7 separate regions of the Homo sapiens genome follow, and regions 2, 3, 4, 5, 6 and 7 are each linked to region 1. Evidence: promoter capture Hi-C in 16 types of primary human blood cells and fetal thymus (Javierre and others, 2016). All regions are on one chromosome and are shown on one strand. The core of a region is centred on a gene start or on the middle of the fragment in contact, and the rest is flanking DNA. Distances in the headings are between cores, read along the strand shown. Region 1 holds the start of RAB22A (RAB22A, member RAS oncogene family). Region 2 overlaps RAE1 (ribonucleic acid export 1). Region 3 overlaps RBM38 (RNA binding motif protein 38). Region 4 has its middle 5.5 kb from the start of SLMO2-ATP5E. Region 5 has its middle 3.1 kb from the start of CTSZ. Region 6 overlaps ZBP1 (Z-DNA binding protein 1). Region 7 overlaps NELFCD (negative elongation factor complex member C/D).

Region 1 (3,451 bases), core at 676-3,175:
ACATATGAACAATCAACTTTACTTATCCATAGAACCAGAGAACTGAAAAAACCTTCCATTTCAATATGAATTTATTAATTTATTATTACTACCAGTACAGGAATGTGTAAGGGTTCAGATCTCAACCTACTACTTTCAGGAAGGACAAAAACCATTTAAATGTCTTTTACTTGATATGCCTGAAAGAATAGCACCAGGATCTATTTTCATCTGCCTTATTTCAAGGTGTAATTGCTGTTGATATTTATAGACCGAAGCTTCTGTGTCTGTTCTAATAATTAGTAGAACTCCAATTCATATTTGCATTTTGAAGTTCTCACCCCCAACAAGTCCGAAGATAATTTTCCTAAAATACACAGATCCTCACTGGACTCTTTCAAGTCCTTCCAGAGATGATGCGAACCAGCGACTCAGAATTCAATGACTACAAAGCGCAGGGCCTACACCTGTAACACACTATGTATTTGGAAGGATTTTCAATGCACCTTTAGATGTGTATCAAATAAAAGTCTCTTACCCTATTGTTGGGTTGATGTTTGGATCAAAACTGTCTTCCACAAACCGCCACACAATACTCGATTTACCTACACCTGTATCCTGAAAGAGAACGAGATGAGGGACTGAGAAAAAGTTTACCTTTTGGCAGACACCAAAAACTACTTTGTGGCATAAGTTCAGGATTTTAGAAAAATCACCCTAGACGTGTAAATTTTATAAACGGAGGAACACAAAAGCGGTTGTCATAAAAATTCAGTAGAGTAATTAGGAAATTCCAACTGTACTAAAAGGGAGAGGTTTTTGCCGTTAAGACAGATTAGGACCTTTTGAGAGACCCAAAGTTTCTGCTTCGTGTAAAAAGTAACAAGTCCACTTGCTTTTTAACATATGTTAGTAAACTTTGAACTCCTGAGTTACCTCTGAGTAATCCCTGATGAATCCTAGCCCCACCCTATTTGGGGGAATAAAGATTAGTTATTGGAGTTCCTGCCGATCTTTAAGGCAGAAACTCTGGAATGACAGCATCAATTTCAGAAAGAAGGCTTTGAAATGGCCAACACCTTGTCTTTCCTGACAAGACAGGAAGCTGAAGCTTCAAACTAGTCTTTGGGGCTTCCTGATTTGAACACCCCTTTTCTCCACAGGAAGAGTTACTTGGCAAAGTAACTCTTTGGACAAGTGGCAGGGGTATCCCACAAGTTCAAAAACACCCAAGAGACAAAGTAGGCTAATGCTGCTTGTAAAACCTAAAGACCTGTTATTGGTTTTACTTTGGAAGACTTGGCCAACTCCCAACTAATACCTTGGTAAGTTGGGAGAAAACTATTTAAGAACCTCTCTTAACCCAGATGCAATAGAGAGGCAAGGGGGGGCTGTTTGCTCTTTGTGGGGCGGGAAGAGTCCACGGGCTCCAGGGAGGGGAAGGGGAAGGGTCCCTTCGGCCTCCAGGACCTTTTCGAGAGTGCAAGAGGTGGGCGGGACGGCTCCCGAGCTGGAGGGAGGGTCCACGGGGCTGGCAGACAGCGTCTTGGACGTGGGAGGGGGGAAGGGATGAGGGGACAGGGGGGATCCGGGGTCCCCGCCAGCCCAGCCTCCCGTGGCCCTCCCGGCCGGACCCGCCGCCACTCACCCCGAGCAGACACACTTTGAGCTCCCTCAGCGCCATGGCCCGGGAGCCAGGGGCGCGGGCCCGCCGCCGCCCTAAGTTGAGAAGGGAGAGGCCAGGCCCAGCAAGAGCATCCCCTGGCGCCGCTGCCGCCGCACGGCCCAGCCCCGGTCCGCGCAGAGGCGGCTGCCGCCCGTCCTCCGGCCGTAGGTCCGGCCTGTCCGCTGCCAGCCGCGTGGGGCCCGCCTTAGCAGCCGGGACGCCGCCGCGGCCTTCCGGGAGCCGCCGCCGCCGCCATCTTGGGACGCCGGCCGCGTCACCTGACCTCCCCGCCCACCTCGGCAGCCACCTTCGCTGAGAGGGCGGGGCCGGCCGGCCGGCGCGGATCGGGGGCGGGGCCCGAAGCCGACGGCCCCGCCCCTGTCTGCAGGGCCCCGCCCCTGTCTGCAGGGCCCCGCCCCTGTCTGCAGGGCCCCGCCCCTGTCTGCAGGGCCCCGCCCCTGTCTGCAGGGCCCCGCCCCTGTCTGCAGGGCCCCGCCCCTGTCTGCAGGGCCCCGCCCCTGTCTGCAGGGCCCCGCCCCTGCCGGTCCCGCCTCCATGCCCATCCCAAGATGGCGGGTGAGTGGGGCTGGGCTCGGGGGATGCCAGGGGTGCCCCTCTCTCTCTCGCCCCGTGACCACCCCGCGAGGCCGAGGGGCCCCTGCCCGACCCCGTCCCCTCTCGCCGCAGCCCCCTGGTAACTTCTTGTGTGTTTCTTGGTTTTCAGAGATCCCCCTGTACTTTGTGGACTTGCAGGATGACTTAGACGACTGTAAGTAAGAGTTGGGGCACCCCTGTCCCTCCCTGGGACCCTCTCAAAGAATTCAGAGTGCACGAAGCGCGGGGCGGGGGAACCTCAAGCCAGGCACTCCTTGTCGGGACCAGAACAGCGGGACCCCCAACTGCCTAGATCCACTGGTGGCGGTCCCTCCTCCCTGGGCGGGGCGGGCTGAGGGTGGGAGCCCTTCCCTTCCCTCGGGGGAAGGATTTTTGTTGTTGGGGAAACTTTGGACTCCCTGTCACTTCTTTTCTTCCTGCGCCTGCAGCTGCCGTGGGATGGGCGGAGGGGGTAGTCCCAAGTCCTAGTCGACCCTGGGCGGGCGGGGGGTCCGCCACCTGGGAGGTGGGTGACTTCCCTCTCAGGGCCTTGCCCTTTTCCTAGGGACTTTTTAGGACTGCTGGGGGGTTTGGGAGGTCCCCCTCTCGGTGTGGCCGGTCACGGAGTTGCACGGACTTCTCAAGTGTCCTGGCCACAAGCCCGGCTCCATCTCTTATCCCATGGAGCCCATTGGCCCCCGCATTTCTTGGGTGGGACCCTTGTCCCTTCTTGCCCTCTTTTTTGGAATCATGTTAAGGGCTGGTAGCTGGGGGAGGTGTCATCTTAGAAATCCAAGTTCGCATTTCTGGTGAAGGAAGGAAGCGTTTTCTCTCCTGTCAAGAAACTTACTGAGCAGCTATTTGCTCTGGGGGCCACGTGTTGGGCTCCGAACCTGCAAGGATGTGTTGAAAACAGCTCTACACGCAGGGAGCTCACAGGGTGTGGGGAGAGCCTACTTGTAAACAGAAAATTACCGAGCACCGGAGTGCTTGCTGGTGAAGAAGCCCTATATAAATCATCCAAATAGCTAACATTAATTGGGGGCGTACTGTACGCCAGTCATATACAGTACTTCCTCTCATCTTTCATTCCACATCTTCAGGTTTCCTAATAGTAAGAGTTGGTGTTTACTGAAAACTTACCATGGACCAGACAGCGTTAAACTCTTTTTTTTTTTTTTTTTTTTTTGAGACGTAGTCTTGCTCTGTAGC
Region 2 (3,451 bases), core at 465-2,964, 950 kb after region 1:
ATTAAGAACATCAATAAATGACTATATTTATGTTCAGAAACTTAGAATTCCTACAATATGAACACATATATGCTATTTGTGTTTGGATTATTAAATATTCTAAATCATTCTGTACTTTAAGTAAAATGGAACACGAGAAATGGAAGGGAACGTACGTCACTCCAGCAGACATCAAGCACAGGCCCAGTGTGCATCTGCTGGGCTTTTGGAATGGTCTGTCCACTGTCTTGAACTTCCCAGCAGCGAACCTGTAGTAACAAAAAAATTCAATGCAAACAAAGCAATTACGATGTATTGCTTGCATTTAACACCTAAAAACTAATGGGGTACACCTTAACCATACATAGACTTCTCATAGCAACCTAATTATCTAACTTCAAGAACAAAGGAATTAAAATATCTATGAAAGCAACTGTTTTCTTCGCCTAAGCTATTAAAATAAACAAATTCTATTGCTTACACATAAAATTGCAGATAATTTTCTCAATGCATCTATGAGATATGTCTTTTAAAGTAGAATATCACTTACCCATTACCATTCAGAGAATCAAGACCAAAGTAGAAACTTACCTCTTTTCTGAATACTTTATATAATCTCCCCTCCGTTAAAAAAGTAATACATTTTAGAGATTTTGTAAATATGGCAAAAAAATAAAAATCACCCTAATCACACCACAGACAACCACAGCTAATGGTTCTGTGTGCTCTTAGTCTTCTTTCCATGTACGCATATTTTCTGGAAGACACTAGATTATACAGTGTCTTCACTTTTGCAGCTACAGCTTTCCTCACCTGCATCACTAGCCTGTTCAACTTGAAACATCCTTTTTTTAAGCAGCAAATAATCTGAAATCTTTCTAAAAATTACATGTAGAAAGCAAGCTTGCTCAACCTTGACTACCATCCTCCCTCCTGTTCTCCTAACCCCTGCTGCCCCTGTGCTGTAGGCTACAGTTCAAAAGCTTTTCCAAAAACTTACAATGGTATTCCATCATACAAACATACTATACATTGCCATTACTACTGGATATTAAAATTTTCAAAATTTTCACAAGTTCACAGTGCTTTGGCTGTTATAAAGGTTAATTTAGATAATGCAGATGAAGTACATTATCAGATTTCCTACTCAAGTCCCAGAAGGGTATCAGTGAGATAAAGGGTATAAGCTGAAGGATTTTTGATAACTATTGCCAATTATCCTGTGGAAAAGCCAACTTACATACCTACCAGCCATACATGCAGGGTTTCAGCTTATCCTTGCTGGCACTATTATTCTTTTAAACTTTTAATTTTGTTAATTTAATAAAAAAAAGTCTTAAATTTGCATTTATCTGATTACAAGCATGGATGAATGGTTCAGGTTTATTCTTTCTTTTGTGAAGTCCCTCTTTACACCCTTTGCTTATTTTTCTACCAGAGTTTTCTTTCTTTTAGTAAACTGTAATTTTTTTGTCTTTCTTTTTGTACATGATGAGTAAGTATCTAGGCAAATCTGTGCTATTATTTAACGTTGAAAAAGTTTCATACATGCCTGAGGAACACTGTCAGGATGCCAAGAAAGGGAATTTGTTGGTGTGTGCCACTGGGTATAATGTTCACTCTGGATGAATATGATATTTGATTTGGGAATAAACTTCAAGAGACTGAACTAAAGTAGAAAATTTCGAGCAACACATATGATTGTGCTTTCCTAACAAAAACGGGTGTAAGAATAATGTCTGCCATTCAGAAGGGTTCACACCCCCTAAATTGATTTCTCAAAAAAGGCCATAAATAAGTCCAACTGATTCATTTACTTGGGAAACAACGGAGCTAAAGCTAACCTTGGCCATACAAAGAGAGATGATTTCTAGAACACGTATTTAAGGAGCACTTACATCATTAGCCCATGATCCTGCAATAAGAAAGTTCCCCGGCAAGGTTGGTGGGCTAAAAGACAGACAACCAATGCTATCATCAGGAGATGATGTTACTTCAATATCCTGCGGGAAAAAAGTCAATGTTAAAATGTATGCACGCTCACAACTTCATTCCAAATTGTTTTCTTTCTCACTAATTACCTCACGGTGGCCTTTCCTTGTGTACAAGAACTAACTGAATTAGACCTTTCCTTACTTTGATCAAAGACAGGAGTAAAAAATAAGCTAGAGAAAGTACCAGCACCACCAGGACTAGCAGTAGCAGCTGCTAATGAAATGCCCATGGTCTTGTTTTCTAAATGACCAGTTCACTCTGGCCCCACAGTGCTAGATCACAGTTTTCACCTGCCATCCCCTCTCTCCAACCATGGGAATTCTGAGTCAACAGTCCTGGCTGGGCCAGGCCCTGGGAATCTGCACCGGAATCTGCACCTTGGGTGATTCTGGAGACCTGGCAGGCCAGGAAGAACAGGACACAAGTACGGGGACACATTTTCTGTGCTCCAGTGTTTCAGAAACATGAGTTAGACAAAGTTTCAAAGCTTTCAGCCTAAAGGAGGCTCCCAAGTCATCTCGGGTTCTGTCCTTGATGGGAGAAACTCTGCCCAAACTCTTCCTACAAGCCCCAGGAAGCTTTTCGTGGTACCTTCATGGGATTGTGATTGTCTGTAGTTGCACTGCCAAACATGCTGGTCCCACTGGTTCCAAAACCTGAGGTTGTTCCAAACAGGCTCATTTTGAACCTAAAAAGTAATGAAAAATGTTAAGGATGGGTTTTCTCTTAATATCACTGAGAGGCAATGGTAAGATAATTAACTGGCAGAAGAGAAATACTCAAAGTGGCTTGAGGCCAGGCTTCACTTTTCAGACAAGAGCGCAATGAGCAGAGTGCTTTCAAAACATAAACCTTCTATTTTAGAGTAGTTTTAGGTTTCCAGAAATAGTAAAGATAGAATTCCCATACACTCCATATCTAGTTTCCCCTATTATCTCATATTAGTACGGTTCATTTGTTACCATTAATAAACCAGTATGGATACATTGCAGATTATTTTGTAGGCACCAGCTAGAAAATAAATTCACTCATTTTTTACATAGAGACCCTGAGCTGCGCAGCAGGAATATAACAGTAAACAAGATCGCAGGTCCCCGTGCTTTCAGGTTTCCACCTAGTGGGCATTCACTTTCCTACTAATTTCTACATTCTAGTTTAGGTCAGCATCCGCATGAAACTACCTAGAACAACCAGTCCGGGAAGCGAATCAGCAATTTCTTCGTAAAAGTTTTAAAAAGGTCGGGCATCGTGTTTTGGACATTTACCCAGCAAGAACCTCTCCCACCCTGGGTTTTTTCTTGAATATCATAATCTAACAGGCCCACCAGGGTTTGGTCAGGGCCTCTTGCCACTCAGGAGTTGGGACTCTAATCTCACCAGTCTTCATTTTCCTGCTCTGCAAACATAGAGAACATTAACACATTCTCCAGGGCTGCTCTGGGGATCAAATCAGATTATGTAGAAAATGCAGTATCTA
Region 3 (3,451 bases), core at 414-2,913, 900 kb after region 1:
CACACCCCGGCCACCTCAATCAGGCCCACGCCCTTCAGCTCCAGGCAAGCCCCTCTCACCGCATCTCTTGGGGGCCCAGGCAATGTGGGCTCCACTCCTAAGCATCTTAGTTCACCGGTCTGATAATGGAGATACCTGGAGGGTAACTGAGACCATCCATGAAAGTGCGTGGCACAGCGTGGGGACCTGAGTCAGTGGCGGCAGATGTTGGTGCTGCAGTGCTGGGGTTTATGACCCTTGTTGCTGGGGCTGGTGGCCGCGCTCTGCATCCCTGCTGCCCTCAGCCGGCCCCTCTCCCCACCCAACTCGGTGACTTAGAAATTCCCTCTCCTGGGTTTGTCACTATCCAGAGCCTTCAATCCTGGGACCCAGGAGATGTTTTCAAGGCCTCAGGGCCTTCCCGAAGGCCTGTCCCAGAGGCTGTCACCAGCTGATAGTGACAGGAAACTTGCAGGCTGCGAGTGGCCTTCACGATAACCCTGGCAGTACCCGTAGCCCCCCTCCGTGGATCCCCAAGTTCTTATCAGCTGCAGCAAGTCTCCTCCTCCGGGCTGAAAGCCCCATGCTGCCCTCCCTGACCCCTCACAAGCGTTTGCAAACTGAGACAGTGGGAGGGAGGGGCCAGCCGGCAGGGCCTGGGAAGAAGTGCAGACCCCCACAGAATCCCTATCCCCTCCCTGCCGTAAACCTGTCAGTCTCCATCACCCTGGGGCATTGTTGTGTCTCCCCCAGCAGATGATAAACCCAAAGGGCAGCCCTGTCTGCTCTATCCCCAGCGCTTTGCGTGTGACCCAGCACACGTCTCGGGATGACACAGTGAGTGAGCAATTCAAGGAAGGAGTTGATGGATTCTCCAGCCCTGACACCTCCTCTATGAAGGCCTTGTGATTTCCCCAGCTCTGAGTTCCAGATGCTGGGACTATCCAGCCCCAGACCAAGGCTTCCCTCCCAACTCTACCCTAAGGGCAGCTGTCCTGGACACCTGCCAACGTCCTCTCAGGAACCCACATTCAGGGTCTTCTGGTGGCAACCCCCCTTCTCTGGGGGAACTGTCCTCCTATTCCACAGGGATCTGGTGGGGCTGCCAATCACAATCCACGTCCAGGCCCCTCCCCAGCCACAGCGCCAAGAAGTAACCCAAGCGCAGTCCTCTCCGGGTCTGAAGCTGATGCTGGATGATGCACGGCGGCTGGGACGCCAGGCCTCCCCTGCATTAGCGGGTGTGAAGAGGGGCTGCGTCTGTTCTGCTACTGAGGCTCAGCGGCCGGTGCAGGCCAGGCGCTCTATGCACGGCTGCCAGTGAAATCCTGGGTTCCTGAGCCAGGAGGGCGGGGCATGGGTGATGCCCACAGGCACGAGGGGAGCTCTGCGTTTTGAGAAAAATTAGATCAACTTTTTCTTTAAAGAAAACAAGTTTTATTTTTATCATCAGAACATTCTAATAAAAATATTATGATGAGATTAGCTACCTTTATTCTCTGAGCCTTGACTCTGTCCCAGGCCTGCCCTGGAGCGCCTGCACGCTCAGCTCCCTGAGGTAGGTCCGGAGGGAGACCCCCCGCTGCCCCCCGCCCTCGGCCAGGATACCTCTCACCTCATGTCCCCTCCTCCAGACCCCCACAGCCCTGGATGCCCCATAGCAGCCCTGCCACGGCTGGCAGAACTGCCTCCACCCTCCACCAACCCCCAAGACAGGCAGGAACCGTCTCAGGCTGGCACACAGCAGGTGGTGCGGGGGTAGAGGGAAGAGGCGCACCCTTCTGCACTCAACCGCTCCAGCGGGCAGAGCTGAGGGCCACTGCCCCCCCCAGGCTGGCACCACCATGGTCTAGACCCCAAGTGGCCTGAATGCTGTGGATCACTTCCTTCTCCCCTTCCACAGTGTTTGGGGAGTTGGGGAGGAAGGGAAGGGAGAGGAGTGTCAACGTCGCAGTGACGGGGTCCTGAGACAACTCACTCTGCCACCCCGGCAGGCGGCAGCAGACAGTGGCCCGCACGGGCCTGAGGGGCCTCCTGTCTGTGGTGCCCATCCCACCGAGAGGATCCTGGCCCGCGAGCCGGCAGACACTTTATTATACAGAAACACTATCGTCGTCTCCACGGGCGGAACCAACAAAAGCAAGTCTCTCCAAGTCAAAAATAGGTTTTGGATTCTTGGTGGCGGCAGTATCCGCTGAAAAAATAGACTGAACTTCTGAAATTATCTTAGTAGCAAAACAATTACAAGAAAAAAGTTGCAACTTCAGTGCTATGACTGGAAAGGGGCCTTTGGCCGGCGGCCCCTGTTACCGGCGGCCCCTGTGCGCCTGGGAGCTCCTCCGGGCTTGAGGAAGCCGCCCACGTGCCCTGATGGAGAAAATGGGACTCCAACAGGAGGCCGTGTCCTCACACCTCAGACTGCGCTCACAGCTCGGGAGGATCAAGTTACAATAAACAGTCCATTAACTTCTTGCTTTCAGGTTTCCCTGGAGTCAGGCATCTCTGCACAGTCCAGGGCAGCCAGGGGCTGCAGAGGGTCTGTGACACCCCGCCACGATGCAGCAGTGGGGACACAAGCCTGAGGGAACCTGGAGTGTGGAGAGGCAGGAGAAGGTGCAAGGAGAGGCTGCCATGGTGTGCAAGGAACCTGGGATTGCGTCTTTAAATAGTTCTCAGTCATTCTTAAAGTCCTCCCTCAAGACACAATGGGACCTAGATTAAAGAGAAGCCGTCTCTCCGCTGTCCCAGGGCGCAGGCGGAATGCCCGAGCGGTCTTCGGAGGCACGGGTGCTGGTGGCACCTCACTGAAGCTCAGCCGGGCTGTCGCCAGCCCATCATGGCCTGGCAGCTCTGTCTGCTGTGAAGGTGACAATGCCACAGTCCTCGGGGCAGGAACGCCCCTCACTGCATCCTGTCAGGCTGCAGCTGCGGCGCCTGGTACTGCACGAAAGTGGTGCCCGCGGGTGCTGCGGCTGAGAGGGCCTGGGGCACGGCGGCAGGGTAGCTGTAGCCCACGAAGCTGGCAGCCGTGGCAGGCGAGGCGGCGTATGGGTACTGGTCATAGGTGGCCGGTGGGTACTGGGCGTAGGCCGGGCTGGCCGGCGTGTACTCAATGTAGGGCGAGGACAGCGACGGGACAGGGGCGGCTGGGATCACCACGCTGGGCTGCACGATGGCTGGTGGGTAGATGTAGTGCGGGGTCAGCCTGTGGGGCCAAGCAGAGCAGGTTAGGGCCAGAACGGAGTTGGGGAATACAGCTGGGAGAACAGTGGGGTACACGATGCGTGCCGCCCCCCACCCCGAGCCCCGACTTTCCTCATCGGTCAGATGGGCACAGAAACAGCACCTGGCCAGATGCTGCCGCCTCAAGGCCTTCGCACTGACTGTCTGCACTAACCACCAGGCTCCCTCCTCCACTCCATGTCTCCTTCTCAGCAAGGCCTTCCCAGACTGCACCCCCGCATCCCAGCCC
Region 4 (3,451 bases), core at 519-3,018, 740 kb before region 1:
AAGAAAGAAAGAAAGAAGAAAGAGAGAGAGAGAGAGAGAGAGAAAGAAAGAAAGAAAGAAAGAAAGAAAGAAAGAAAGAAAGAAAGAAAGAGAGAAAGAAAGAGAAGGAGAGAAAGAAAGAAAGATTTGTATTAAATTAGGAGTAATGTGATTCCTAAAATGGGGAGTTTGCCTTTGCAGAGACAAGGGGTGGATGCCATGTCTGAGGGCTTGGGAGCCCCTGAGCCCCTCCTGTGTTCTGGTCTCTCCTTCTCAGCCAGTTACACTCCCTAGGTTGGAGAGCTGATAGGGATGTTGAAATCTCAGGCTTGAGCTGTGCTGGTCACTTCTCTCTGGCTTATTCTATGGCCACGCAGACTCTGGCTCTCTATTCCATCAGGGCCACCTGGGCCACAAGTGAAAAGGTAAGAGTGTCCCGGGCTGTGCCAGTACAGCTTCCTAAACATGGCTCCAATTTCCTGCTCCTCTCCTATCACCGCTGCCCTTATTGTTTGTAACCGAAGTACTGATTGCATCTCTCTCCTCACCGACCTCCCTGTGTAGTCCTAGCTGTTGGAGTTTGAAGAAAGCTGTCATTTCTGGTATGCAATTGGTACCCAATAAGCTCACTGAAAGCAAATCCACTTAAAAGCAACATCAATATTTTACAGTAAATGATGAAAAACAAAAAGTGCAGCTGACACTTTACCCTGAAAAATGAAACATAAAATGATGATACTGACTGGGCGTGGTGGCTCACACCTGTAATCCCAGCACTTTGGGAGGCCGAGGTGGCGGATCACTTGAGGTCAGGAGTTCAAGACCAGCCTGACCAACATGGTGAAAACCCATCTCTACTAAAAATACAAAAAGTAGCCAGGTGTGGTGGCGGGTGCCTGTAATCCCAGCTACTTGAGAGGCTGAGACAGGAGATTTGCTTGAACCCAGGAGGCAGAGGTTGCAGTGAACCTAGATTGTGCCACTGCCCTCCAGCCTGGGCGACAGAGTGAGACTCCATCTCAAAAATAAATAAATAACATAAAATAAAGTAATGATAGTAAGTTTATATATATACACATATATCCATATGTGTATATTTAGTGATATATATAATGATAGATATTTATATGAGATATATATATATACATACATGTGTTAGATTAAAATTGTAACTCTATCAAATTGTTATCACATAGAATGAACCAAGTGCTGGTTTCTGCAATGATTTTCCTCACCAAACTGGAAAATAGCACTGCAAAATATGTTTGAATTTCACAACTCAGTCGCAGAGATGGACATCTTTGCAGAAATATTCAAGGACTCGAATATTTTTCCCAAGGGTCTTTCCCAACTTTTAGCCATTCATATCATTTTCTTTGTGAACCATCCCTTGCCAATTTTGTCTGCTCAAATGTTAACTGCTTTAATTCTACACAAAGTCATCTATTGATGGGTTAGTGTATAATGAAGGAGTTCTTGAATATCATTCTCATCAACTTGATGAAATTCTGCATCTTCTCCAAGAGTTTTGGTTTCACTTTCCAACCACTTGTGTTATTTTTAGCCTTGGACAATCAGTGGGAGACTAACCAGCAATCACATAGGTTCAAGCGATGAGGATCTATGCTGCTGCTTTCATAAGGCACCAAGTTTATATGTACAGATTTGGTTCAGTGGCAAATATTTTCTTGTTATGATGATTCTTGCTTCACTGTGTGGCCACATTTATAGTAAGGACTCAAATGATGAAGAGGTTGATAAGGAGCCATGCTCCCACCCCCATCCTTCTAACACAGAAGTCATCACTTTGGACTTTAAATTGCAGTGTGGACACACACACAACACTTCCACAGTGATGTGTCATAATGAGGGCTGTGTCAAATGCAAACAGGAGCACAGAAGCCGAAACAAGGCACTGTGCTCAGCTAGTGGGGAGAGGCGTATCAGTGAGACACTTGGAGAGTAGAGTATTTGCACAGAATCTCAAGATATGAGTAAGACTTTCCAGGGCAAATCAGAGGAAAGTGCATTCTGGGTGGAGAGAACACCATGTGCAAAGTTCAAGGGTGTGGAAATGCATGGCCTGTAAGGATAGCGAGAGATTTATGTGGCTGTGGGTTCAGCTGAGTTGGAGAATGGGAGGAGAAAACATCAAAGCCAGACAGGTAGACGGGGACAGAGATAAGAGCCTGTTAGATGAACCCCAGGGTTTCAACACTGACGTTGTCAACATTTGGGGCCAGATCCCTCTTTGTTGGGGCAGGGAGTCAGTTGCCAACTTGTGCATTGTAGGATGTTTAGCAGCATCGCTGGCCTCTACCCACAGATGCCAGTGGCACCCTCACCACCAGTTGGGACAACCGAGCATGTCTCCAGACAGTGCCAATGTCCCCTGGGGAATATCGTCCCTAGGGAAATTGTCACCTGCTGCTGTAGTGTGATAGGGATGACCCAGAATAGATGATCAGTTGTTATTTGTGCAATGACTAAATGAAGGGAGCACAGACAAAAAGACTGGAAAGGAGAAGGGACACATTATCATGGCCGGGCATGGTGGCACGCATCTGTAGTTCCAGCTACTCGGGAGGCTGAGGCAGGAGGATCGATTTAGCCCAGGAGGTCAAAGCTGCAGTAAGCCATAATCATGCTGCTGCACTCCAGCCTAGGCAACAGAGCAAAGCTCTGTCTCTAAAATAAAAATGTAAAAACGAGGCCGGGCATGGTGGCTCACGCCTGTAATCCCAGCACTTTGGGAAGCCAAGGCAGGTGGATCACTTGAGGTCAGGAGTTTGAGACCAGCCTGGCCAAGATGGCGAAATCCCATCTCTACTAGAAATACAAAAATTAGCCAGCGGTGGTGCATGCCTGTAATCCCAGCTACTCAAGAGGCTGAGGCAGGGGAATTGTTTGAACCTAGGAGGAGGAGGTTGCAGTGAGCCAAGATCACGCCACTGCACGCCAGCCTGGGAGACAGAGCAAGACTCTGTTGAAAGAAAGGAAGAAAGAAAGAGAGAGAGAAAGAGAGAGGAAGGAAGGAAAGAAGGAAGGAAGGAGGGAGGGAGGGAAGGAGGGAGGGAAAGAGAGAAAGATTCTCAGAGTTAAGAAGATATACGGAAAGGATTCATGAGAATACAAAGAGAAGAAGACAGTTGAAGGAGTTCACAGTGAATTTAGAGATAAAGGTCACTGCTGAGAGATTCAGAGGAAAAGGTGGCTTGGAGTTTGAGGAGAATGGATGAGAGTCCAAAAAGCACCTGGGAAGTTTGGAAGTCAGCACCAAAGTGAGACATGCCCACTTTGTGAGGAGACGAGAAGGTGTTAGGAAGGCCCACGGGGCTCACTGCCTTATTTTAAGAGTCATGTATTTAGCATTTATCAGGGTAAAAATACTGGTTTTCTAATGAAAGTAGTTATATAAAGTTTCCTTTCAAGTGTATTTGTAAGGAAGCTGATTCTGACAAAAACACATGGT
Region 5 (3,451 bases), core at 794-3,293, 700 kb before region 1:
GCGAAACTCTGTCTCAAAAAACAAAAACAAACAAAAAACCTTGCTGATAAAAGGATGTGATAAAGAAGGCAGCCAAAACCCACCAAACCCAAGATGGCGATGAAAGTGACCTCTGGTTGTCCTCAGTGCTGATTATATGATAATTATAATGCATTAGCATGCTAAGAGACACTCCTACCAGCACCATGACAGTTTACAGATGCCACAGCAGCATCAGGAAGTTACCCTGTATGGTCTACAAAGCGGGGGAACCCTCAGTTCCTGGAATTGCCCACCCCTTTCCAAAAAACTCATGAATGATCCACTCCTTGTTCAGTGTATAATGAAGAAGTAACAGTAACTATAAATAGCTGAGCACCCCGTGCTGCCGCTCTGCCTGTGGAGGAGCTATTCTTTTATTCCTTTGCTTTCTTAATAAACTTGCTTTCACTTTATGGACTTTCCCCGAATTCCTTCTTGCGTGAGGTCCAAGAACCCTCTCTTGGGATCTGGGTTGGGATCCCCTTTCCCATAACACAACCAGGCCAGGATGTGATGCATGGTGGTGCTTGGGGACAGTGGCATGGTGGATTGCAAACCTGGCCCGCCCTATCTGAAGGCCTGCACTGCAGAGATATCTGGGTGTTAGCGAGTGCCTCTGACCCGTTGACCAAGTGGATCAAGAGGAACTCCTGTAGCTGGTGAGGGAACCGTCGTGCCCTGCAAAACCAGCCTAGCCTAGCGAGCATTGTCGGCATCCACCCAAACAAATGCCGGTATCCAGGATGTGGCTAAACTCAGGAATGTGGAATAATAGGAAATGTCTGCAGCTTGCCGGGGTGGAAGCCAGACAATATGGCACAAAGGAAGAAGAAAAAGGATTTCGAGGCCATTCCACAGTCGATGAAAACTCATCTGTGTTCTCCTCCTCCAGGTTGGGAAGGTGGGCCAGCCGTGGCCTGAGTGCTGATCTTTATCAGAATGAGGAGAAAAATCAGCCTTATTTTTAGAAATGAATAGGCTTTTGTGTCTGTGGCCTTGGATCATGTGTTTTCCAGGAGAATTCATGGGGTTAAAAAAAAAAAAAAAAAAAGGGACTGGATTGGAACCTGCCACCCAGGAGCCTCGTGCTGAGCACAGGTCACCTGACATCTCCAGAGGCTCAGTCTTTTCGCCAGTAGAATGGAGTAATAGCATCTGCCTCCCAACCCCCACCCCCACCTCACAGCATTGTGCAAAGGATCAAATGCGGCTGCACAGTCCTCTAGAATGTCATTGGCTCAGCCCTCTGCCCTCAAGCACCACTGGGAGCAGGAATGACTCCATTACCTCCAGGAAGGAAAACCCAGGATAGGTGCCAAGCTTTCCAGGCAAAGTGGTTTCAGGGGAGACGCCTTGCTCTAAATACCTACTCAATTCTGCCCCAAGCTGGAAGGCGGTGGCACACAGCTGCTTATAAAGAGCTGCTAGAAGCAATGCTTAGGCAAGTAGGGCCTCAGAGGTAGGAAGGTCCAAGTGCCCTGCCCCAAGCCTCTTCGGATCCCGGCCCAGATGAGAAGAAGAGTCAGTATCCACAAAACCACCTTGCAGGCACCTGCAGCCAAGTCAGGAGGAAACACCTTTCCGGTTTCCAAGAGTCCCCAAGCTGCTCTGCAGGTGAGTCTGCTTTGAAGAGAGAGACACAGCTCTGGGGCTAAACTCAACCCCCAGCAAGCAGTCCCCAGCAAGAAATGGCTGGGGTGGCCTGTCTATCAGGTTCCCAATGTGCTCCCTCCTCTTTTTCCAGTCCCAGACACCTCCTGGTTTTATCTGTGTGCCCTTCAGAGAACTCCTCCAGCTAAACATCCTTCACTAATAGCAGCACTGGAATTTGAGTTTGGGTGGGTTTGTGGCCATCCCCAACCCCGCCCCCACAAGGAACATGTTTAAGATCTTGCATCGAGTTAAGGGAAAAACAAAAACAACCAACAAAAACCCCAAAACCAAGAAAACCAAAAATCCTATTTAGGATCCTCTGCTGCACGATTTTAGTAACCCCCAAAATGACACAGCCCGCCAGCTTCTCGGAGCAGTCTGGCAGCCAGACATGCATCCACTCGACTAGGGCCAGGTTCAGAGATGAGGAGCCCTGTCTCTGCGTGGTTTGCTGTGTTGGACCCATGAGAAGAGGCTGGAGAGATAAGTCTCATCAGGCCCCCTTCCTTCCTTCTTGGCTTGAAAATGATGATTTCAGACCAGGCGCGGTGGCTCACACCTGTAATCCCAGCACTTTGGGAGGCCGAGGCGGCAGGATCACGGGGTCAGAAGCTCGAGACCAGTCTGGCCAACGTAGTGAAACCCTATCTCTACTAAAAATACAAAAACTTAGCCAGGTGTGATGGTGTGTGCCTGTAATCCCAGCTACTCAGGAGGCTGAGGCAGGAGAATTGCGTGAACCCAGGAGGTGGAGGTTGCAGTGAGCCGATATTGCTCCATTGCACTCCAGCCCAGGTGACAGAGCGAGACTCTGTCTCCAAAAAAAAAAAAAGAAAAGAAAAAGTAAATGATGATTTCAAATGGATAGGCTCCCTCCCTCTCTTCCTGCCCTATTCCATCAGATTCTGATCTTGAATTGCTTCTATGTTAGGGAAACCCAGGGGGCACAAGTTGTCAACTTTGGACGTCCTTTTTGTTACCAGCCTAAAAATATCCTTCCCTTTAACCAACTTTCAATAGGGTAAATCCGGAGAGTCTCCTCTTTGGAACTCCCCAGATAAATTAAGCTTTGTGCCAGCATTTGGGAGCAGGACTGTGAATGTTTATTCCCCTTCCTGACCATCTCACCCCTCCTCCTGACCCCTGTTTGTGAGTTTGATTTGCCAGAGGCTCTGGGCTGAAAGCGGGTGATGTACAGGACTTGTGATGGAGCAGGTGTGGTTGCTGTCATCAGACCCAGCTACATAATTTGCAGGGCCCAGGGCACAGTGAACCTGGAGAGCCCCTCGTTCAGCTCTGCATTACACTTCTGGACTTAGGGCCTCATGTGACTGCAGGGGTCGTGTGCCTGCCTTGCTGACCATGCCTGTCATACCTTCTACATGCGCTGGACCTGCTCGGAGAGTCTCGGGGCATCTTCAGAGCACCCCAGCTCTCCCCATGCTACAGGAAAGAAAAGCTTACACCTTGGGTGCCTTTTCACCCAGATTCAGGGACCAGGGCCCAGGACATCACAGCTCAGGCATCAGAGGCCAAGCACAAGGGGCCCTCCCCTCTCCAGGCTTGTTTCTCATGCTGTAGAATGTGCTGTTGGACTTCACAGTACCTGGATCATAACTATGGGTACCTGGAGGGAGGGGCACGATATCTCTTACCACACAATTTTGTGAGTTCTTAGCTTTTTCTTTAGAAGAAGCCAAAAACCGGCCGCTTTGGTAGATGCCACCTGATGACCTGGCAAGGGCAGCTGTGTCTGGGTTTCTTCCTCACAAGGACC
Region 6 (3,451 bases), core at 516-3,015, 700 kb after region 1:
CCCTGGCCCCACGTGTCTTCAAACTCTCCCTCCAGGACCCCTGGGAGCCCCATGCACATGTGACACCTGCAGAACGGGGACCAGGAGCGCATTCCTCAGGACTCAGGCCATGAGCATCTGGGAGCATGGACTTCCTTCCAGCAGCAAAGGGAGTCTCTGAGACCTCCAAGGCCACTGGGGACCCTTGGGAGGGCATGTGCCACCAGATGGGGATCCGGCTTAGGACCCCACAGCACAGGCTGTCTGCAGAGCCCTGTGGGTCTCAAGCCAGACCATTGAAGACTTCTCTTTCCGGAAAGAACACAGCACTGTGTTTTTTAAAAATAGCCACACTTCTGGGTGTAGTGGCTCATGCCTGTAATCCCAGCACTTTGGGAGGCCGAGGCAGGTGGATCACGAGGTCAGGAGATCGAGACCATCCTGGCTAACACGGTGAAACCCTCTCTCTACTAAAAAATACAAAAAATTAGCCAGGCATGGTGGCGGGCACATGTAGTCCCAGCTACTCAGGAGGCTGAGGCAGGAGAATGGCGTAAACCTGGGAGGCGGAGCTTGCAGTGAGCCAAGATCATGCCACTGCACTCCAGCCTGGGCGACAGAGCAAGACTCTGTCTCAAAAAAAAAAAATGGTCACACTCCCAGATTTGCCCTGCAACATCCTGACATTCTTCCCTAAGGTTCTAGCAGAAGAGCTGATGACATCTTTGCCCCTTGCCCTGACCCACCCACCTCTCTTTGTCCCCAAGAGACATCAATAGGCATAGCTCAGAGATATTATGGGTGAGTTCCAGAACACCCCAATAAAGCAAGTCATGCAAATTTTTGATTTCCCAGTGCATATACAAGTTATATTCACACGATGCTCTAGTCTATTAGGTGTGCACTGAATCACGTTATATCTAAAAAACAATGTACATACCTTAATTTTAAAATACTTTATTGCTAAAAATGCTAACCATCACCTGTCTTCTGCCAGTCATCATCTCTATGCTGGTGGAGGTCTTGCCTTGATGTTGATGGCTGCTGACTGATCAGGGTGGTGGTTGCTGAAGGTGGAGGCAGCTGTGGCAATTTCTTAAAATAAGGCAACAATGAAGTTCGCTGCAGCAATGAACTCTTCCTTTCATGAAAGCTTTCTCTGTAGCATGCAATGCTGTTTGATGGCATTTTACTCATACTAGAACTTCTTTCAAAATTGGAACCAAGACTCCCCAACCCTGCTGCTGCTTTACCAACTAGGTTTATATAGCAGTCTAAATCCTTTGTTGTCATTTCAAGAATGTTCGCAGTATCTTCACCAGGAATAGATGCCATCTCAAGAAACCACTTTCTTTGCTCATCCATAAGAAGCAACTCATCTGTTCAAGCTTTCTCATGAGATTGCAGCAATTCAGTCCCATCTTCATATTCCACTTCTAATTTGTGTTTTCCTGCTATTTCCACCACATTTGCAGTTGCTGCCTTCACTGAAGTCTTGAACCCCTCAAAGTCATTCATGAAATTTGGAATCAACTTCTTCCAGACTCCTGTGAATGTTGATAGTTTGACCTCCTCCCATGAATCACAAATGTTCTTAACGGCATGTAGATTGGTGATCTTTTCCAGAAGATTTTCAACTTACTTTGCCCAGATCCATCTGAGGAATCACTCTGTGTTGCACTTATGCCCTCATAAAATATATTTATTGAAGAATAAGAAGTGAATGTTGAAGTTACTCCTTAATCCATGGGCTGCAGAATGGATGCTGTGCTAGCAGGCATGAAAACAATGTTAATTCTTTTTTACATCTCCATCAGAGCCCGTGGATGAACAGGTGCATTGTCAACGAGTAGTAAAAAAAAAATTTTTTTTTGGCCCTCAATCCAGGATGCGGAACACTCAGATCCTGTGGTATGGACGATGAGCAGTGAAATGTTCAAAGGAATATTTTGTTTTCTAAGCAGTAAGTCTCAATGCTAGGCTTAAAATATTCAGTAAACCAAGCTATATACAGGTGCTCTCATCTAGCTTTGTTGCTTCATTCATAGAACATAGGCAGAGTCGATTTAGCATCATTCTTAAGGGCCCTAGAATTTCCAAAATGGTAATTGAGGAGAGGCTTCAGCTGAAAGTCACCAGCTACATTAATCTCCAACAAGAGAGCCTGTCCCCTTTGAAGCTTTGAAGCCAGGCATTGACATCTCCTTTCGAGTTATGAAAGTTCTAGATGACATCTTTTTTCAATAGAAGGCTGTTTCATCTACATTAAGAACCTGCTCTGTTGTGTAGTCACGCTCATCAATGATCTTAGCTAGAGCTTCCGGGTAACCTGCTGCAGCTTCTCCATCAGCACTTGCTGCTTCACCTCACACTTGCATGTTATGGGGACGGTTTCTTTCCTTAAACCTCATGAACCAACCTCTGCTCACTTCCAACTATTCTTCTGCAGCTTCCTCACCTCTCTCAGCCTTTAGAATTGAATAGAGCAAGGGCCTTGCCCTAGACGAGGCTTAGGTTTAAGAGATTGTTGTAGCTGGCTCGATCCTCTATCCAGACCACTAAAACTTTCTCCACACTAGCCACAAGGCTGGTTCACTTTCTCATCACTCATGTGTTTGCTGAAGTAAGACTTTTAATATCCTTCAAGACCCTTTCCTTTGCCTTCACAATTTGGCTAACTTTTGACCTAGCTTTCAACTTGTCTTAGCTTTGGACATGCCTCCCTCACCAAGCTTAATCATTTCTCACTTTTGATTTAAAGTGAGAGACGTGCAACTCTTCCTTTCACTTTAGCACATAGAGGCCGTTTGGGGTTATTTATTTATTTATTTATTTATTTTTGAGATGGAGTTTTGCTCTCGTTGTCTAGGCTGGAGTGCAATGGCACAATCTTGGCTCACTGCAACCTCCACCTCCCAGGTTCAAGGGATTCTTTTGCTTCAGCCTCCTGGGTCGCTGTGATTACAGACCTGCACCACCACGCCTGGCTAACTTTGTATTTTTAGTAGAGATGGGGTTTCTCCATGTAGGTCAGGCTGGTCTTGAACTCCCAACCTCAGGTGATCTGCCCACCTCAGCCTCCCAAAGTGTTGGGATTCTAGGTGTGACCCACGGCGCCCGGCCCATTGTAGGGTTATGAATTTTCCTAATTTCAATATTGTTGTGTCTTCAAGGAATAGGGAGGCCTGAGGAGAGGGAGAGAGAGGAGGAGATGGCTGATCAGTGACAGGTTAGAGCACACAGATTTATTAATTAACTTCGTCATCTTCTACAGGTGATATTTGTGGCACCCCAAAGCAAAGCAATTATAATAGCAACATCAAAGATCACTGGTCACAGATCACCATAACACATATAATCAAAATGAAAAAGTGTGAAATATTGTGAGGATTACCAAAATGTGACGCAGAGACAGGAAGTGAGCATATGCTGCTGGAAAAATTGGCACTGATAGACTCGCTTCACACAGGGT
Region 7 (3,451 bases), core at 1-2,500, 680 kb before region 1:
CATCCGGGTGAAATGGCCATCAGTTTGGAAAAAATCCCTCCCCACCCCCACCGGCCGGTGACACCACCCATCTCCAACATTCAGATGCCCAGGGTGGTAATGGAGGTAAAGTGTGTCATACAGCTGCTGCAGGCAGAAGGTGCTTTTTGGTAAACGAGTATCTGTCATTGTCATCACTACATCAGAAAGCACAGTTCTCAGTTAGGTACAAAATGAACTAAATTAAGCCAAAAAGGGCAGTGCTAGTGTAAACAGTATGAAACATGAAACCAACGGTGCATTGCTGACCTCAGTGACAAAATAGCGAATGAGTGAAATGTCAGTGTCCAGCTTCTCCAGACACTTTCGGATGTAACTGACAACAGGAAGTACATAACCTCGACTCAGCAGGTGAACCATCCTGTCCAGCAGTGTCTTCTTCAACTCAAGCTACAGAAGAAGGGGGACAGGGAGCTGGTTAGAGAGGGTCCTCCTCAGCCCTCTGGCAAGCCCCACGGGCACTGCTCACCTGCTCCATCACGTCCAGCTGGGAGTGCTCAGTCTCAAAAAGCTTAACAAGCAGCTGCAGGACCTGGGGGTGCAGGAGCTGGTGGCAGGTGCTGATCTACAAACAGGCCAGAGGGAGCTTCGCTGAGCAGTGTGGTCACGCTCAGCACACAGAGAAACTGGGCACTGTCACAGCCACCAAAGAGCTTATCACTGTGGAAGAAGGTCCTGACACCTAAGCCAGGGCCATCAGCTTCCAGTAACACTTGACTGAGGTTAAGAAATTTCTGCAGTCAATGAAGCTAGGTCCTTAAGAGGAAAATCCTCAGGACAGAAATAACTATTTTTGAGAAGAGTATCCTCTAAACTCACTGAATAGATGCAATGTTAATGCCAACGTAAACAGCATGAGACAGACACTGTGTAGGCTGTGAACAGCTCTCCGCCCTCTTACCTCATCCAGCAACGCCAGGTGGACAGGGGTATGGTCAGTCTGCAGCTGAAAGTACCTTGGTTCTGATACAGTCCAATCCACCCACTTCAGCACACCCATTGCTACCACTGGAAACCTACAGTTAAGGCAGAATGCTTCCTTTAAAAAACAATTTAAAACACAAAATATGCTAGAAAAGCATTAAAGGAAAGTTAAAAACAAACTCAAATGACTCCATCATTCACCCTTCAATACGCCCCCCAACCCTTTTTTTTTTTTTTTTTTGAGACAGGGTCTCACTCTGTCTTCCAGGCTGGAGTACAATGACACAATCATGGCTCACTGCAGCCTCCCGAGTACCTGGGACTACAGGTGAGTGCCACCATGTCTAGCTAATTTTTTGTAGAGAGAGGGTCCACCATGTTGCTCAGACTGGTCTCAAACTCCTGGGCTCAAACTATTTTCTTGCCTTGGCCTCCCAGATTGCTGGGATTCCAGGCCAGAGCCACTGTGCCTGGCGTAAGCTCTGCTTATTAGTAAATAGTGTGAATGGATCAGCAGCCACTCAACATGCGGTGCAAGAAGCAGAGTTCAATTCTCTGCTCACTTTAAACCACTTATCGAAAGGAAAAGATCATTAATGAGTGATACTCAGTGAGTTTGGTGGACTGGGTTGAAGTTTACCTTTATTTAGCAAACTCTTTCTTCATCCCTAGTATAAATTATTAGGGGAAAGACATGCCTAAGAGGACACACTATTTCTAGGACACGTCTATTTATATGATTGGCATAATCACAAATCATTTCTATGTAAGCAATACTTTGTGGGCATAACTTTACCTATAAATAGACCCTTCAAATCAATTTTTGTTAACTCTGGCTATCTTTTACTTAGCCTAATTTGTACTCAACAGACTTCTGGCAAATAAACATCTGAAAATTACTCATGCTGCTAAAGCTGTTTAAAGTTCCCTACATACTGTTTAAAAATGAAAAAATAAATAAAATGAACAAGTATCGCTGAAGCTTTTGTTATTTGAGCTTTCAATATGAAAACTCAAACGACCTCCTCCCCAAAGGACTGATTTAAGAACTGAGTTTCGTTTTGCTTACCTAATACACTGATAAAGTGTGCTCAATTCTGCCACTAGTTCAGAGGCCCCTTTGTTCTCGTTGCAACACAAATTGTGAACGGTTTCGACAGCTTTTGACGTTGACTTCAGCTCATCTTTATTGATGCTCACTCGCTTGTTCTGAAAACACACACACAAGCTGGTGAGCCTGACAGGGCAGATATCCCTGCTGTCGGGGTGTTCTGGTGTCGGCCACTTCTTGCAAAGCACTTTCCCTATTTCTACTTAAGTTGGGAGTCAATTCAGCTGTCAAACTTCACAGTCACACAGTGTACAGAAACTGAAAAGCAATGAGACTAGTGTTTGTCCATGTCTTACGGAAATCAGTTTCATTTCTTTAGTCACATTTCAATTTACGGTTTGCAGAGCATTGGAGACATTACGCACATTTTCTGGAGACGTTTAGTGCTTTCTCTACGCAGAAACACAAGAAAACACATGCCTGATACTAGGGAGGGTCAAGATTTCTTGCAGCCAAAATTCCAAAATAATATCAAAGCAGAGGAGGATATTTGTCTCCTAAAAAATCCACAAATTCCCAGAACCGATGGTACCTTCTTCCAGGTCTCAACCACGCTTGCTGCGTACGCCAAGATGTGGATGTATTTGTGCTTGTGGTCCTGGTTGATCCGAGCCCCTGGTTTAAAGAGTGACTGCATGAACAGGTCCAGGAAGGCTGGAACGCGGATCTGAGGAGAAGCATATGCCCAGTTCGGGATGGCAGGCGTGAGGGCACTGCTCACCCACCTCCCCTCAGGGTTCCCTACACAGCAGGGGCCCAACAGGCTCCAGGCAGAGAGTGTGACTGAGGAAGGACCAGGACAATGATGGATTTGCATTCACAGCCTTCAGACAATCAGACAAGCACAGACTTTCCAAAGTCACCTTACCAGCTGACATTGGGGATTCTTGAGAAGCAACTTACAAGTTCAACCGGAGGAGGGTCCATGCTTGTGAACATCTTGAACAGGACGGTGATGTCAGCAGGGTTCAGGGCTCCTTTGGACAGCATGGCCCCGAGAGCCTGGCAGGCCCTGGGGTAGGAGGCAGCTGTGCCCAAGGCTAGTGTGATCTGACTGGCGTCATGACCTCTTGATGAGAAAAACCATAGACCCCGTTACTAACAAGGCAGCTTCTTTTTTCTGTTCTTTTTTACACATATAATACTTTGCATTGTTGGGATCTGTTTTTCTGTCATTCACGAGTATACTGACTGACCCACAAAAATAACATTTACAACACTGGAAAAGTGATTCCAATACAGCTTGCTGGCTCTATAAGAAAGGAGTCACACACTTTAAATACTTAGGAACACTCTATTGGTAGCAGAAAATAAAGCTAATATGAGCTCATTTTGCGACACTGTAACAATGAGATTGCTGAGCAACTATTTCTGGAC

The links. The method cuts DNA at HindIII sites, captures the fragments that hold promoters and counts their contacts. A CHiCAGO score of 5 or more calls a contact.
Region 2: a fragment that was not itself captured here is called in contact with the fragment with the promoter of RAB22A in region 1 in 1 of 17 cell types (monocytes); the score reaches 5.5 in monocytes.
Region 3: a contact is called between a fragment that was not itself captured here and the fragment with the promoter of RAB22A in region 1, in 1 of 17 cell types (neutrophils). The highest score is 5.7, in neutrophils.
Region 4: a fragment that was not itself captured here is called in contact with the fragment with the promoter of RAB22A in region 1 in 1 of 17 cell types (neutrophils); the score reaches 6.0 in neutrophils.
Region 5: a contact is called between a fragment that was not itself captured here and the fragment with the promoter of RAB22A in region 1, in 1 of 17 cell types (neutrophils). The highest score is 5.8, in neutrophils.
Region 6: a fragment that was not itself captured here is called in contact with the fragment with the promoter of RAB22A in region 1 in 1 of 17 cell types (total CD8 T cells); the score reaches 6.0 in total CD8 T cells.
Region 7: a contact is called between a fragment that was not itself captured here and the fragment with the promoter of RAB22A in region 1, in 1 of 17 cell types (neutrophils). The highest score is 6.5, in neutrophils.

Annotation. Positions count from the first base shown.
Region 1 is chr20:58,308,189-58,311,639 of GRCh38, reverse strand. It overlaps RAB22A (RAB22A, member RAS oncogene family), which reads right to left and starts at 1,925. Exons shown (of 7, transcript NM_020673.3): 1 at 1,628-1,925; 2 at 518-597. The coding sequence starts at 1,663. It also overlaps the pseudogene PPP4R1L. RefSeq lists silencers at 1,527-1,856, 1,897-2,456. The HindIII fragment of the contact is 7,008 bases long and covers 1,093-3,451 here.
Region 2 is chr20:57,353,243-57,356,693 of GRCh38, reverse strand. RAE1 (ribonucleic acid export 1) reads right to left here. Exons shown (of 12, transcript NM_003610.4): 2 at 2,566-2,662; 3 at 1,878-1,982; 4 at 156-248. The coding sequence starts at 2,655. Among named protein-coding and RNA genes, the nearest start is that of RAE1, 3.7 kb to the right of the region's middle. The HindIII fragment of the contact is 1,499 bases long and covers 965-2,463 here.
Region 3 is chr20:57,407,276-57,410,726 of GRCh38, reverse strand. RBM38 (RNA binding motif protein 38) reads right to left here. Exons shown (of 4, transcript NM_017495.6): 4 at 1,394-3,184. The coding sequence ends at 2,881. Among named protein-coding and RNA genes, the nearest start is that of RBM38-AS1, 16 kb to the right of the region's middle. RefSeq lists enhancers at 88-217, 928-1,087, 1,255-1,760 and a silencer at 413-582. The HindIII fragment of the contact is 9,296 bases long and covers 1-3,451 here.
Region 4 is chr20:59,046,663-59,050,113 of GRCh38, reverse strand. No RefSeq gene overlaps it. Among named protein-coding and RNA genes, the nearest start is that of SLMO2-ATP5E, 5.5 kb to the right of the region's middle. The HindIII fragment of the contact is 8,431 bases long and covers 1-3,451 here.
Region 5 is chr20:59,008,587-59,012,037 of GRCh38, reverse strand. No RefSeq gene overlaps it. Among named protein-coding and RNA genes, the nearest start is that of CTSZ, 3.1 kb to the right of the region's middle. The HindIII fragment of the contact is 1,400 bases long and covers 1,344-2,743 here.
Region 6 is chr20:57,605,304-57,608,754 of GRCh38, reverse strand. All of the region lies in intron 7 of ZBP1 (Z-DNA binding protein 1), which reads left to right. Among named protein-coding and RNA genes, the nearest start is that of ZBP1, 13 kb to the left of the region's middle. The HindIII fragment of the contact is 791 bases long and covers 1,370-2,160 here.
Region 7 is chr20:58,990,602-58,994,052 of GRCh38, reverse strand. NELFCD (negative elongation factor complex member C/D) reads right to left here. Exons shown (of 15, transcript NM_198976.4): 8 at 2,978-3,143; 9 at 2,607-2,741; 10 at 2,033-2,172; 11 at 941-1,055; 12 at 509-604; 13 at 289-429. Among named protein-coding and RNA genes, the nearest start is that of NELFCD, 11 kb to the right of the region's middle. The HindIII fragment of the contact is 1,395 bases long and covers 553-1,947 here.